Regions from separate parts of the Homo sapiens genome. Here all the other regions are linked to region 2. The links are contacts of gene promoters, found by promoter capture Hi-C in blood cells and fetal thymus (Javierre and others, 2016). All regions are on one chromosome and are shown on one strand. The core of a region is centred on a gene start or on the middle of the fragment in contact, and the rest is flanking DNA. Distances in the headings are between cores, read along the strand shown.

Region 1 (3,182 bases), core at 342-2,841, 230 kb before region 2:
CCAGGTTAGTGGTGAGGGGCGGGGCTTATTTTTACCCTTTCCATAGTCTAATATCTAAGCCCCCCATTCCCCATTCCACTACTGCACCCCTATCTCTGGCCAAATATCTTCTCCCCACCACTCCAGGCTGACAAAGTCTGCCTCTACCCTCAGACAGTCCCCTCTTCACTCTCCATCCCCCCTTTCTCCCCTCAGAAAGAGATGCTGAGTAAACCTGGCTTTCTCGTTTATACAGCTTCTCCCCATGGAACACATCATTAAAGAATAACTGTGACCTCTCGTGTTGTTTATTTAGCCCTGATTTCACAACATGCAGGAAATCAGACAGCCTTGATATTTCACAATATGCTGGCTTTGCCACAGTGAGTTTAAACCCAACCCAAGCTTCATTTGCTTCTAGAAAGTACCATCAAAGTACCTCAAGTGAGAACAGACTAGAATACATTTCACGTCAGAATATACATTAGATATATTGCAAAGTATATTTTTGGCCACCGGACTGGCAACTCCTTCCTGGCTCTCCATTCTAGTTCAACATCAGGTTCAGGCAGAGGCATTGTCTCCCACACACACTAATTCCAACCTGTGCCCCTCCTGGATGCCCAGGTCACCATGAGTATTCCAGTGCCATTGCTTATTTTTATTTTTATTTTTTGCAATTTTCACTGCTTTCCTTTTACTCTTAATAAGCATGAGGCCAGAAGTCCCAAGCAGTGGCTAAGGGGTTAAGAGCCTGGCTAAAGCATCTGACTGACTTGGATTTAGTAATACCTTTGCTTCCTACTGGCCAGTAACATTGGACTACTTAGTCAATCTCTGTGTGCCTCAGTTTCCTTATCCTTAAAATAGAATGTCTACATCATAGGGCATTGTAAGGAGTAAATGAAGTAATGCAAGCCCACTGTCTAGCATAGTGCTTGTACAAGTACTATGTACAAGTAGCAGATAATATTGCTGACATATTCACCCTTTTTGCCCACTATATTTTTCTCCTCTTTGATCTCCTGACTCCTCGCCCTCCAACCACACATTCTATTAGTTAGACAACACTACGCTTGTGTTTTCAGGAAAGGGAAGAGAAAAAGGTGAATAGGATATCTCCTCCTAGTTCCGTGTTTCAATAAGTCTGCATTATTAGGGGAACAAAAAGGAAAATAAGAATTTGAAGAGGGGAATTCTCATTTTCCCATAACCCCAAACAAAATAAAAACCAAACCAAACCAAAACAAACTGGAAAAGATTCCCCTAGTTGGGGGTGCAAAGATGATAATGAGGAAGCCATGAGGTCTTCTTGATCGGAGGAGGCGGTAGACAGGGACATGGGTAACTTCACAGAGAGTCCCTGTGGCCTGGCACAGGTGCATGTGATATAATATAAATGGTATATGAGCTCTCCTCTGGGATATGTAAGCCTATCTGCATAAAGCAGTTCTGTAATGTAAGAACTTTGGAATGATGGGTAGGGGAGGAGGGAGGAGAGAGTAATTTTTTCTTATGGAGGCTGTATTGCTCAGGATTTAGGATGCCCCACAAACATTTAGGAATAACATATGTCAAATCACTAGGGTGTGATGGTACATTTTATAGATCACCTTCAATAAGAAGAAAGCCAAGACTTTTAGAAGTATCTTGGAGCCTGACCTGTCCCAAAGTAGGCAAGGCCTAGGGCCATTTCCATTCAAACTCCTGGGATCAAGTGATTCTCCTGCCTTGGCTTCCCAAAATGCTGGGATTACAGGCATGAGCCACCTGGCCCGGCCTGTGGTGTATTTTAAATGTTTATATTTAACACATTAACACTTTGAACATAAAAGTATACAATGACTACATCATTAAACTCATTTGAGTATAGTATCAACATTCTAAATTTAAGGTAGAGCCCAAAGAGCCCTCTTGCTTCCCCTCGATAGCCCTTAGAGTCTGTGAAGAAAGCTCTTTTTCTAAGTCCCGAATGATTGCATAATTTCAACAGGCACCAGCAATCATTCATTAAGTGTACTTGTTCTTCTCAGATAAAGTCTTCTGATTTTAGGTATAGAGAGATCACCGTATCTCCTTGCCACAGCATCAGTCTCCTCATTTTCCGCCCTTGTCTGTTTGTGTTGCTATAACAATACCTGAGATTGGGTAGTGAAAAGAGGTTTATTTGGCTCATGGTTCTGCAGGCTGGACAAGACGCACGGCACAGACATCTGCATTGGATGAGGGCCTCAGGCTGCTTCCACTCCTGGGAAGGCAGAAAGGGAGCACACCTGTGTGAGGCACATGGGCAGAGAGGAAGCTAGAGAGAGAAGGAGGAGGTGCCAGCTCTTTTCAACAACCCGCTCTCTGACAACTCACTCATGCCTGAGGGAGGCATTAATCTATTCATGAACAATCTCTCCTCAGGACCCAAACACCTCCCATTAGGCCCCACCTCCAACACTGGGGATCAAATTTCAACATGAGATTTGGAGGGAACACAAATCCAAACCATAGCAGAGAAGTCACCAGGAAGAGTCCTGATTGTCTCCCTGCCCTGGCATCAGCCTCCTCATCTAAACTCTGGGAGCAGTAACCCCTTCCCAAGCTGTCTGCCCCTCCAGAGTGTGTTCAGGGTTATTAGTGGCTGGCAAGCAGGGGCTACTCCCTGGATGAGAGGGCAAAGTCTCTCATAGGGTGAGATGATCCTGTGGCAATAAACTAACAATGCCAATTAGCGGTGCAGACATGTCCTATAGATCAGAAATGAGGAGGAAGTCCCAAAGGGCATTGAGAAACTTAAATCTGGATTTTGGGGCTTTGTGTCAAAAGCTTCTGAACATAGCTGTGGGTAGAGAAGATGGAACTGAACAGAAAGACAGCCAGGCCAGCTGCTAAAAAGTTATGCCAGCCTCGGTGATAAGACAGAGATTACTGTGGGATCACAGACTGCTATTTTGGGAACATACATTATTTTCTTAAAAGCTGTTTATATTTTCTGTAATTAGGTCCTTTTTGTTCTGTCTTATGTTAACACATTTAAAAATGCTAGCCTGGTCAGCTGTGTTAAGAAGAACCAAGAAAGAGATTTTCATTCGGCTTGTCCAGAGTTTTAAAGGGGAAGTGGCTTACTAACCGCCTGACATAGTGGAAACAGAGTGAGATCCTCAGAGAGCAGGTAAACTGAGGGCAACTTGAGCTGTAAACCCTTGTTTAGAAAC
Region 2 (3,414 bases), core at 639-3,138:
ATTGTTTCAATACACCAGACATTTTCAAGTACCTGTACGCAGTCTTTTTTCTTTTTTTTTTTTTTTTGAGACAGGGTCTCACTGTATTGCCCAGGCTGGTGTGCAGTGCTTCACTGCAACCTTAACCTCCTGGGCTCAAGCAACCCTTTTGCTTCAGCCTCCTCAGTAGCTTGGACCACAAGCCTGTGCCACCATGCCTGGCTGATTTTTCAACTTTTTGGTAGAGATGGGGTCTCACTATATTGCCCAGGCTAGTCTTGAACTACCCAGCTCAAGTGGTTCTCCCACCTTGGCTTCCCAAAGTTCTGGGATTACAGGCTTGAGCTACCACACTTAGCCAGATTTTGTTTTGAGAATACTTTTTTTGCCCTCACTAAAACAACCTAGCCAAAAAATTTTAATTTAAATCTATGCTTTTTAAAAAAGATTTATTGCTGACATTTATTTCTTAACTTCACAGGTAACTGATTTGATAATTAATAAATAAGTCATTCTCCAAAAGCAGCTGAATAACATGGTTTGTGAAGCATTCTTTATTTTGTGTGCAGGTGTGATTACAGAGTTGTTTTGTTTGGGGCTCATTTTATCATCGTCACAGATGAGGTTGGCGTTCTATAAAATTGCTTTGGTTAAGCAGAACCCTATTGTCTGGCTATTTTGCCAGACCAGCAACCAGCTACCAGCTGTTAGGCTATGTTTTTTCTCATGTAGTTACAATCAAGACTGTCTAGATTGAAATCTCATCTTCCTCACAGGCTATGAATTGAGGCAGTCAACTTCCCTGAGCTTGTTTCCTCTTCTGTAAAATGTAGATAACAATAGCACCTATTTTAGAGGGTTGTTCTGAGGATTAAATAAGTTAATACAAGTGCTTGGAATAGTGCCTGGCACAGGGTGGGTAATTAGGTTTTTTTTTCTCTCTCTCTAATTCACAACACCCTACCTCATTCATTCAACCCTTATTGATTTTTTACACCTTGAGATTGTAGAAATGTATTCTCCTCTTCGAATTACCAGGATCTGAATTAAAAACTCTGACTGAGGAGTGCTTACAAAGCTTATAACGATGGTTGAATTTTAACGATTAATTGCATTTATTAATGGTCAACATGATCACATTTTATCCAGCCCTCTTTTCCCTTGTATGGGTCACGCTAAGTTGAAACAACCAAAACCAAAATAAAAACATATCTAAAATCATACACATTAACTTATATGACCCTCGTTGCTCTTTTTTCCTCCTAAGAGGGAATAGTGTTATCTAGCGCCACGGTTCTTTTCAGTTTTGTTTTGTTTTGTTTTGTTTTTTATACGGAGTTTCGCTCTTGTTGCCCAGGCTGGAGTGAAATGGTGCAATCTCGGCTTACCGCAATCTCCGCCTCCTGTGTTCAAGCGATTCTCCTGCCTCAGCCTCCCTAGTAGCTGGGATTACAGGCATGCGCCACCACGCTCGACTAATTTTGTAATTTTAGTAGAGACGGGGTTTCTCCATGTGGATCAGGCCGGTCTCGAACTCCCGACCTCAGGCCCGCCTTGGCCTCCCAAAGTGCTGGGATTACAGGCGTCAGTTTCTAATTTTAGACTGCGGGATTAAAAATAAACGATTAATCCTCATTTATGTGCTTCATATGGGTGTCGGAATGACGATACATGCTAACACACGTGAAAAAATTTACATTTCAGATCCTTTCAGAAACGCAAGGCAATATTAAGTAGTAGCATATGCCCAAGGGCGAGGGGCGGGTCGGCGGTGGCTGGCTCTCCAATACACCACAGAGTATTTTGGCAACGAGAGTAATTTTGACACTCTGAGGCTTCCGTAGCATAGCTCGCTTTAGGAACCGCTAAGGTGTCGCCTGCCTAGAGTCCCATGCGCTATTTCCGGTCATACCCGGAAACACGAGTCCAAGCTGCAGCTGGCAGGGATTGCGGGGTGCCGGCCGTCTGAGTTTTTTTAAAACTGCTCGCCGCGAAGTCTGTCTGCAGCCAAAATGTCCAACAGAAACAACAACAAGCTTCCCAGCAACCTGCCGCAGTTACAGAATCTAATCAAGCGAGACCCGCCGGCCTACATCGAGGAGGTGGGAGTGCGGCGCGGCAGACGCTAGAGGCCGGATAGTGGATGGTTGAGACGCCGGTGCGGGAAAGCATGGAGTGGGGCTGGGATCCAGGCTCGCCGCCTATTCTTCTGTTAGGTTCAGGGGTCCCTCCAGAGGAGAGAAGGGGTTGGGGACGGGACATGCCTTAGGGTTCGTTCCCCACCTCTTGAAAATCTGTTGCCCCTTTGGATTTTCTACCTGCCCTGCTGCCGCTGAAACACCTTTAAAACCTCATTTTGTTTTAAGATATTTTTCTTCGTCCGCACGGAAGTGGAGAGAGAAATGGGCCGCACCCAACCACCAACTTCCACGCGGATTTCTCAGCCTCTTTTCAGAAATCCCAAACTTGAATTAGTCGGTAACCTTTGATGAATCGTATGTTAGAATGCTTTCGATTGACGTCCGTTTCTGAGAGCAGGCTGTGTACCCTGGACTGTGCCAGGAAAGGGGGGGGGGGGGTTTCTCAAGCACAACGGACAGACTCGGGAGCTTAGTATATTTAGTTAAGCCAGGATTCAAACTTACCGGAGACTGGCATGACTCGGATGTCAGAATTTGCTTCGGGAAAAGATTAGGTTGAAAAATTAGGCCCTCATTGTGATGGGCTTTGTGTACTGACCTCATGTAAGTTGTGAACATTAGGGGTGTTTGAACCAAGTACCGACAAAACGAAAGTGGTTTTTGATATATTAATCTGACAGGTGCTTCCTTCAGACACTCATTTATCAGACGGGCATTAAACAGGTATCTCTGCTAGGCATTTGCTGCAATTACATGTTTGTGCTTCTACCAGATTGTGATTTGTTCAGTGGCTAACACAATTACTTATTTTTTCATTGCCCTTCTCACTTCCCTCCTCCCCTAAATTTTCACATATATGTATTTTATGAGTGCTTTTTAACACATGGCAATCTCAGTGGCTTAGGTCACCAGTAGAGAAAGCCTCTCCAAGGATCAAGGTAGTGGAAATAAAGAGTAGGAAACAAGTACAAGAAGTTAAGTAACATAGGCAAGGCTTTGAGATGCTTAAAGCATTGTATAGCCATTCGCAAAGAAAGTGGTAAGTTGAGAGTCTATATAATTCCGTTAGATAACTCCTGCTGCTGACTGTTGTTAACCAGTTGTGTAACCGAAGCAGGTTAATCGCTGAGCCTATGTGGGTATTTTAATATGTAAGAAGGGGGTAATAACTACTTCTTTAATTCACTTAAGTATATATGCAAAATCACATATAACTACTGTGTGTTGTTATTCTAGGTAGGCGTTGGGGTACAGTAATGAATAAGACAGATAAGAAAGCATTCTTCTCTTGGAC
Region 3 (3,464 bases), core at 153-2,652, 190 kb before region 2:
GAGTGCAGTCAGTGGCTCCATCACAGCTCACTGAAGCTTCTACCTCCTGGGCTCCAGGGATCCTCCTGTGTCGGCCAGGGACTCCAGGCGTGAACCACTGTTCCTGGGCTGGCCCAGTAAACATTCTAATTCACCTACACCAACCCCTGCCGACTCTCCCACCCTAACCCCTAGGTGACCGCTCCATATGCAGCTGGACACTGATGATGGACCCAGGACCTAGACAGTATGAGGTCCCTGCCACCTAGTCCCAGGGGTGTAGGTCGGGTTTATAATGAGCCTCTGGCCCTGCTTAGGCGGAAGGTAGCGCCACCTTGTGGCCAAAGATGCCCACATGTTTACAAGAGCTTTTCCCCTTTTGTGGTGTCTGGATAACTCAGAGCCTGCAAATGGTCTCTTTGTAAATATTACACTTACAAAATGCAGTACTGGGAAAGGACAGAGAAGAGGCTTTGTCTTCCATATGCAGCCAGAAAGGAGCTCACTGCCTGATTTTTCAGCTATTTAATCTCAACCTTTACATTTATATTTCCAACCCCCTTTGCTATGGGGTAGTAGGAGAGAGTGGATGGAGGTGCTTTGGAGGGGATGCTGCTGTCTTAATATACCTCTGCTCCGCAGACTGTCATAGAGTGGTCCCAGGTGCACTTCCTCAGGGAGATCATCGAGGCCATGTTGAAAGCCTATCAGCAGAAGCTCTTTGTGACTCACACAGTTGACGAATTGCTCTGGGGCTACAAAGATGAAATCTTGTCCCTTATCCATGTTTTCAGGCCCGATATCTCTCCCTATTTTGGCCTATTCTATGAGGTAAGTAGATTTTTCTTTTCAGAACCTCTTTTTTTAGCTGACAGTGGGTTGGGGCACCCCAAGCCAGATTAACTTTGAGTTTCTTCTAGAAATTGCCTAGAGTTAAGTTATCTTATAGAGTGTGTGAAAAATGGAGTGTTTTTTGGAAAGAAAAAAAACTTGAGGCCGGGTGCGGTGGCTAATGCCTGTAATTCCAGGACTTTGGGAGACCGAGGTGGGTGGATCATTTGAGGTTAAGACTTTGAGACCAGCCTGGCCAACATGGCAAAACTCTATCTCTACTAAAAATACAAAAATTAGCCAGCTGTGGTGATGTACACCTGTAATCTCACCTACTCAGGAGACTGAGGCAGGTAAGTTGCATGAACCCAGGAGGCAGAGGTTGCAGTGAGCTGAAATTACACCACTGTACTCCAGCCAGGGTGACAGAGCAAGACTCTGTCTAAAAAAGCCAAAAAAAAAACAAAAACAAAAACAAAAACAAAAACCCTGGAGTGCAGTGGATAGTTGGGAAGTTGGTAAAAGATAAAATAACCCCAGGAAGAGGATTAGATTAGGGGTGTGCTCTGGGATTGTGATGGGTCTCCTCAGCTTTAAATTTGTAGCTGTTTTCTGGCTCTGCCTGTTCAAGAGTCTTACCCTCTTCATGTAATCCTGTAGCATTCCAGTTTTTATGGCAAACAGCAATAATTGTGTCCCTGGGCCTTCAAGGTTATATAAAACGTAGAAATTGTTAAAATAGAATTGTGAGCAAGTTTTAAAAAATTATATGTGTGAGAGACAGGAGTCCTAAAAGTAGGGCCTCACCAACTCTGAATGCATCATTCGGGAGAAGCAGACCAGGCAGGAGTTCCCTAGAGGGTCCTGTCTCAGAGGAATACAGCTTCACAGGACCAGAGGAAGCACAGATTTCCTGTCAAGCCCTGACTGAACCTCCCTTCTAGAAATAATTTCAGGAGAGCCTCCTACTGAGAGATATTATGCAAAGGTTCCCTCGAGGCCCTTTTGTTCCCAGTGGCTTCAATCCATCAGCCAAGTAGATCTTGTTGCTAATATCTCACTGTTTCTCAGATAATTTGCATTATATAACTCACTTTTTTTGTTTTTACATCATTGAATTCACCAGACTGATAGCCACACTATCTTATGTGGTTGTGAGGATTTCATGAGATGATTCATGCAAAAATTTTAGAACAGAGCCAGGAATATTATACTCAACAATTGTTCACTCCTATTATTATAGAGGAGCTACTACCTGTGCTATTTCTGAGAAATCATAGCTACATGCCCAAATAAAGAATTTTAGGAATGTAGTGTCTGTATGTGCCCTTAAGAAGTATAACTTGGAGAGAATATACAATTGAAGAAACCTTAATTGAAAATAGGGCTATATTAATACCGTCTTCTTCCAGTGTAGCTATTCTGGTATAATTGGTCCTGGTCCTGGACTTAGGCTTTTAAATTTGTTATTATTGAGAAATAATTCACTTACTATAACATTTACCATTTTAAAATGTACAATTCAGTAGTCCTTAGTATAGTCACAAGGTTGTGCAACCATTACTGCTAATTCCAGAACATTTTCATTATCCCAAAAAAGAAACTGCATACTCTCTTAGCAGTCACTCCTATTCCTGTCTTACTCTCCCAGGCCCTGGCAACCACTAATCTACTTTCTGGCTCTGTGAATTTGCATATTCTGGACATCTCATATAAATGGAGTCATATAATATATGCCCTTCTGTGTCTGCTTTTTAAATTTAGTGTAATGTTGTCAGGGTTCATCCATGTTGTAGCATGTATCAGTGTTCCATTCCTTTTTATAACTGAGGAATATTCCGTTGTGTAGATATACCACATTTTGCTTATCCATTTATCAGTTGATGGACATTTGGGTTGTGTTCCTTCTTGGCTATTATTAGAAGTGCTGCTATGAATATTTGTTCATACAAGCTTTTATATGAACATTGGGTATATACCTTGAAGTGGAATTCTCTTGAGTATATACATAGGTGTGGAATTTTGGAGTCCTATGAATTCTGTTTAACTTTGTTAAGAACTGACAAACTGTTTTCTGCAGTGACTGCAACATTTTTATATTCCTGCTAGCAATGTATAAAGGTTCCAATTTCTCCACATCCTCACCAACGCTTACTATTTTTCTTTTTTTTTTTTTTAATTGCCCTCCTAGTGGGTGTGAAGTGGTATCTCATTGTGGTTTTGATTTGCATTTCCCTAATGACTAATGATGCTGAACATGTTTTTATGTGCTCTCTGGCCATTAGTATATTTTCTTTTCAGAAATGTCTCTTCAAATCCTTTGCCCATTTTAAAATTGAGCTCCTACTTTTTAAAACCATAAAATAATAATATGGTTAATATAGTATTTAGCAAAATAGTCACTATTTTCTGGTCCTGGTTCAGTCTTGTGTAGCAGTTAGGCCCTAGTAGGACAGTTAGATGAAGATTAAATTTTTTAGTTACTGTATCAGTTAGGGTTGCCAGAGAAACTGAATCAAGAGGGTGTATATGTAGAGATGAGAAAGAGGGAGAGAAAGAAATTTATATTATGGAATTGGCTTATGTGATTATGGGAGCTGGTAAGTCTGAAATCCATAGAGCAGGCCAGCAGCTGGAAACTCAGGTAAAAGTTG
Region 4 (3,543 bases), core at 366-2,865, 130 kb before region 2:
TTCAAAATTGGGATGGGGAGATTGCCTAGGTTTTGTAATATAAAACATGGCCACCTAATTTTGTCCTTTCAGCATGGCCTGGCATTGGAAAGTTTCTGTAAAAGGTGATGTGTGCAGGTGGATGTGCTAAAATATGTCTTGCACAATCTTAACCTCTTTCTTGTAACATGTAAATGTAAGCCAGTGGCATAGAATGATTAATTATGATAGAGACAATTATGGGATTAATTCTGATTGGGATGCTTTAATAAAATAGTGAGATTTTAACCTACCCTGTAAGGTTAAGACTTCCTAAGGCAGAATAGTGGGATTTCAGTCAGGTAAAACAGCAAGTCAAAGATCCAGAGGCATAAAAATGTATCCTGCTGCATAATTAATATCATTCCTTTTCCTCTGCACTCTGATTACTCCCTCCAAGTATTCTGTAACAGTTAATGTTGAAATGTACTGTACTTGCTGTCAGTAGTTAGATACAGGGCTAATTGTCTATTAAGACACCCCCTAGATATCATCTTACACATCTTAACTTTTTCCACTCAGACCTGGTTGTTGGCTGTATTCCATGTTACTTCAGATTCCTTAATTATTTCTGAAGTATGTGTTTTCTTTTTTTCCTTTTGAGATAGGTCTCTCCCTCTCTCTCTGTCTCTCTCTCTCCCTCCCCCTCCCCCTCTCTCCCTCTCTCCCTCTCTCCCCCTTTCTCCCTCTTCTCCCTCTCTCTCCCTCTCCCTCTCTCCCCCTCTCTCCCTCTCTCCCCCTCTCCCCCTCTCCCCCTCTCTCCCTCTTCTCCCTCTCTCTCCCCCTCTCTCCCTCTTCTCCCTCTTCTCCCTCTCTCCCTCTCCCTCTCTCCCTCTCTCCCCCTCTCTCCCTCTCCCCCTCTCCCCCTCTCCCCCTCTCCCTCTCCCTCTTGCCCATGCTGGAGTGCAGTGGCATGATCACGGCTCACTGCAACCTCAAACTCCTGGGCTCAAGTGATCCTCCCACCTCAGCCTCCTAAGGAGCTGGGATTACAGGCATGTAGCACTACACCTGGTTAATTTTTTATATTTTTTGTAGAGACAAGGTCTTGCCATTTTGCCCAAGCTTGTCTCAAAATCCTGGTCTCAAGCACTCCTCTTGCCTTGGCCTCCCAAAGTGCTAGGATTACAGGAGTGACCCACTGTGCCCAGCCGTGTGTGTGTGTGTGTGTGTGTGTGTGTGTGTGTGATGGAGTCTCACTCTGTTTTTTGTTTTTTGTTTCTGTGAGATGGAGTTTCACTCTGTTGCCCAGGCTGGAGTGCAGTGGCACGATCTCGGCTCCATCCCCCAGGTTTAAGTGATTCTCCTGCATCAGCCTTCCAAGTAGCTGGGATTACAGGTGCATGCCACCACACCCAGCTACTTCTTTGTATTTTTAGTAGAGACGGGGTTTCACTATGTTGGCCAGGCTGGTCTTGAACTCCTGACCTTAAGTAATTTGCCTGCCTCGTCCTCCCAAAGTGGTGGGATTACAGGTGTGAGCCACCACGCCCAGCTTATTTTTTCTATGTATTGCCTCATTGCTAAATTTCCTAGAGCTCTAAAGATATCTTTGCATGATTCTTTTAAAAAAATTTTAGGTATGTAAAAAGGGAAGAAATATAAAGCACAGATTTATAGGGAAAGAGTTTATATTTTGAGAGATGAATCTCAGGCTTATCCCAAGATTAGAATTTCCATACAGGTGTAACTGATAAATAGTTGTGATATTTGATTAACCCTCCCCCCCCCAATTTTTTTTTAAACAGATCATATCTGAAGATATTAGTGAGCTACAAAAGAATCAAACTACATCTGTAGCCAAAATTGCACAATACAAGAGGAAACTCATGGATCTTTCCCATAGAACTTTACAGGTAGTAATTTGGATTTTCCCCCCCAGTGTTTATAAGACTATGTGTGTGAAATAATGTACTAAATATAGATTTTTAAAATAGAAAAAAAAATACTAAAATGAAAGAATAATGTGAAATTACAAGTACCGAATTCTTTCAGTAAAACTTTGAAATTGGAAAACAAGTCTCATAGGTTTGAGTGAGGAGAATAAAAATATCCTAAAGTTCGTATTTTAGTGACAGTTTGAGGGAAAGCAGTGAAGAAATAAAGCATCTTAGTGCAAGGGAAGCTTCTGTGAGATTATTGATGTCTCATAAATTTCATAAAATAGTTTCATAAAATAGTTCAGAAAATTTTTTGAGTGCTAGAAAAAGGAGTGTAACCATAATGGTCGAAAAACAATAGAATTTCCAAATTAACAGGAGGAATTAAAAGAATAATAACAACTGAAATTATAAACTATCATGAAAACAGAAATATTACATACCAGAACCAGTGGGAAACAGCAAAATCTGTACTCAGAGGAAAACTTACAGCCATAAAAAATTCTCATTTAAAAAAATCAAATGTGAAAAATAAAGGAACTTAGTACTCATGTTAAATTAGAAAAGGAATATCAAGATAAGCCAAAAGAAACTAAAAAGAAAGAAAGATAAATGTGAAATTAGTGAAAGACTAAAAAATGTAATAGTGGAAAGAATAAATTAAAAAACTGTTTCTTTGAAAAGACCGTTAAAATTACTAAGCATCTCATCAGCTGGAAGAAGGGAAAAACAGAGTAAAATATACAAAATTAGTAGTGGGAAAAGAGGCATCACCGTAGATATACAAAACAGAATAAGAAGATACTGCATGGGCCGGGCACAGTGTCTCACTCTTGTAATCCTAGAACTTTGGGAGGCCGAGGTGAGTGGATTGCCTGAGCTCAGGAGTTCAAGACCAGCCTGGGCAACACGGTGAAACCCCATCTCTACTAAAATACAAAAAAATCAGCCAGGCATGGTTGCTTGTGCCTGTAGTTCCAGTTACTTGGGAGGCTGAGGCACGAGAATTGCTTGAACCTGGGAGGCGGAGGTTGCAGTGAGCCGAGATCACGCCACTGCACTCCAGCCTAGGCTACAGAGCAAGACTCCATCTCAGAAAAAAGGAGAAAAAAAAAAGAAGATGCTGCATGTACTTTAGGGTAACAGATTTGGAACTCAGAGGAAGTTTTATTTTGATTTTTCTATGAAAATGAAAATTACCAAAATCTACAGAGAAGTAAGAAAACAAATACCACAGAAACAGTTGGAAAAATGAAAGATGAAACATGAAAAAGGCCTTAGGGACAGATAGTTTCATTGCCAAATTTTGTCTAACCACAAAAGAGCTAATCCAGTGTTATTTTGATTATTCTAGACAATTGAGGAATAATTTATACAGCTTCATTTGTTCTTTTTTCACAGCTTAAGATAATTTGCATACCATACTATTTACTCATTTAAAGTGTACAATTCAATGGCTTTTAGTATATTCAGAGACTTGTATAACCGTTATTACCACAATCAATTTTAGAACATTTCTGTCACCCTACAGACAAATCCCGTACCCATTGTCAGTCACTTCCCCGTTTCACTGCAAATCTGTCAGTCCTATGCAACCAGTTTTGCCTATATGGGTTTGCCTGTTCTGGAAACCTCATATAAATGG

What was found. The method cuts DNA at HindIII sites, captures the fragments that hold promoters and counts their contacts. A CHiCAGO score of 5 or more calls a contact.
Region 1: a contact is called between a fragment that was not itself captured here and the fragment with the promoter of SDAD1 in region 2, in 2 of 17 cell types (non-activated CD4 T cells and monocytes). The highest score is 6.2, in non-activated CD4 T cells.
Region 3: a contact is called between a fragment that was not itself captured here and the fragment with the promoter of SDAD1 in region 2, in 1 of 17 cell types (total CD8 T cells). The highest score is 5.6, in total CD8 T cells.
Region 4: a contact is called between a fragment that was not itself captured here and the fragment with the promoter of SDAD1 in region 2, in 1 of 17 cell types (M2 macrophages). The highest score is 6.9, in M2 macrophages.

Annotation. Positions count from the first base shown.
Region 1 is chr4:76,216,624-76,219,805 of GRCh38, reverse strand. It overlaps a transcript of SCARB2 not described here and a transcript of FAM47E not described here. Among named protein-coding and RNA genes, the nearest start is that of SCARB2, 4.4 kb to the right of the region's middle. The HindIII fragment of the contact is 2,409 bases long and covers 387-2,795 here.
Region 2 is chr4:75,989,419-75,992,832 of GRCh38, reverse strand. SDAD1 (SDA1 domain containing 1) reads left to right here and starts at 1,888. Exons shown (of 22, transcript NM_018115.4): 1 at 1,888-2,081. The coding sequence starts at 1,992. All of the region lies in intron 1 of SDAD1-AS1 (SDAD1 antisense RNA 1), which reads right to left. The HindIII fragment of the contact is 958 bases long and covers 1,060-2,017 here.
Region 3 is chr4:76,176,863-76,180,326 of GRCh38, reverse strand. SCARB2 (scavenger receptor class B member 2) reads left to right here. Exons shown (of 12, transcript NM_005506.4): 4 at 622-810. Among named protein-coding and RNA genes, the nearest start is that of NUP54, 30 kb to the right of the region's middle. RefSeq lists a silencer at 200-259. The HindIII fragment of the contact is 2,727 bases long and covers 39-2,765 here.
Region 4 is chr4:76,122,980-76,126,522 of GRCh38, reverse strand. NUP54 (nucleoporin 54) reads left to right here. Exons shown (of 12, transcript NM_017426.4): 9 at 1,767-1,874. Among named protein-coding and RNA genes, the nearest start is that of NUP54, 24 kb to the left of the region's middle. The HindIII fragment of the contact is 1,060 bases long and covers 1,086-2,145 here.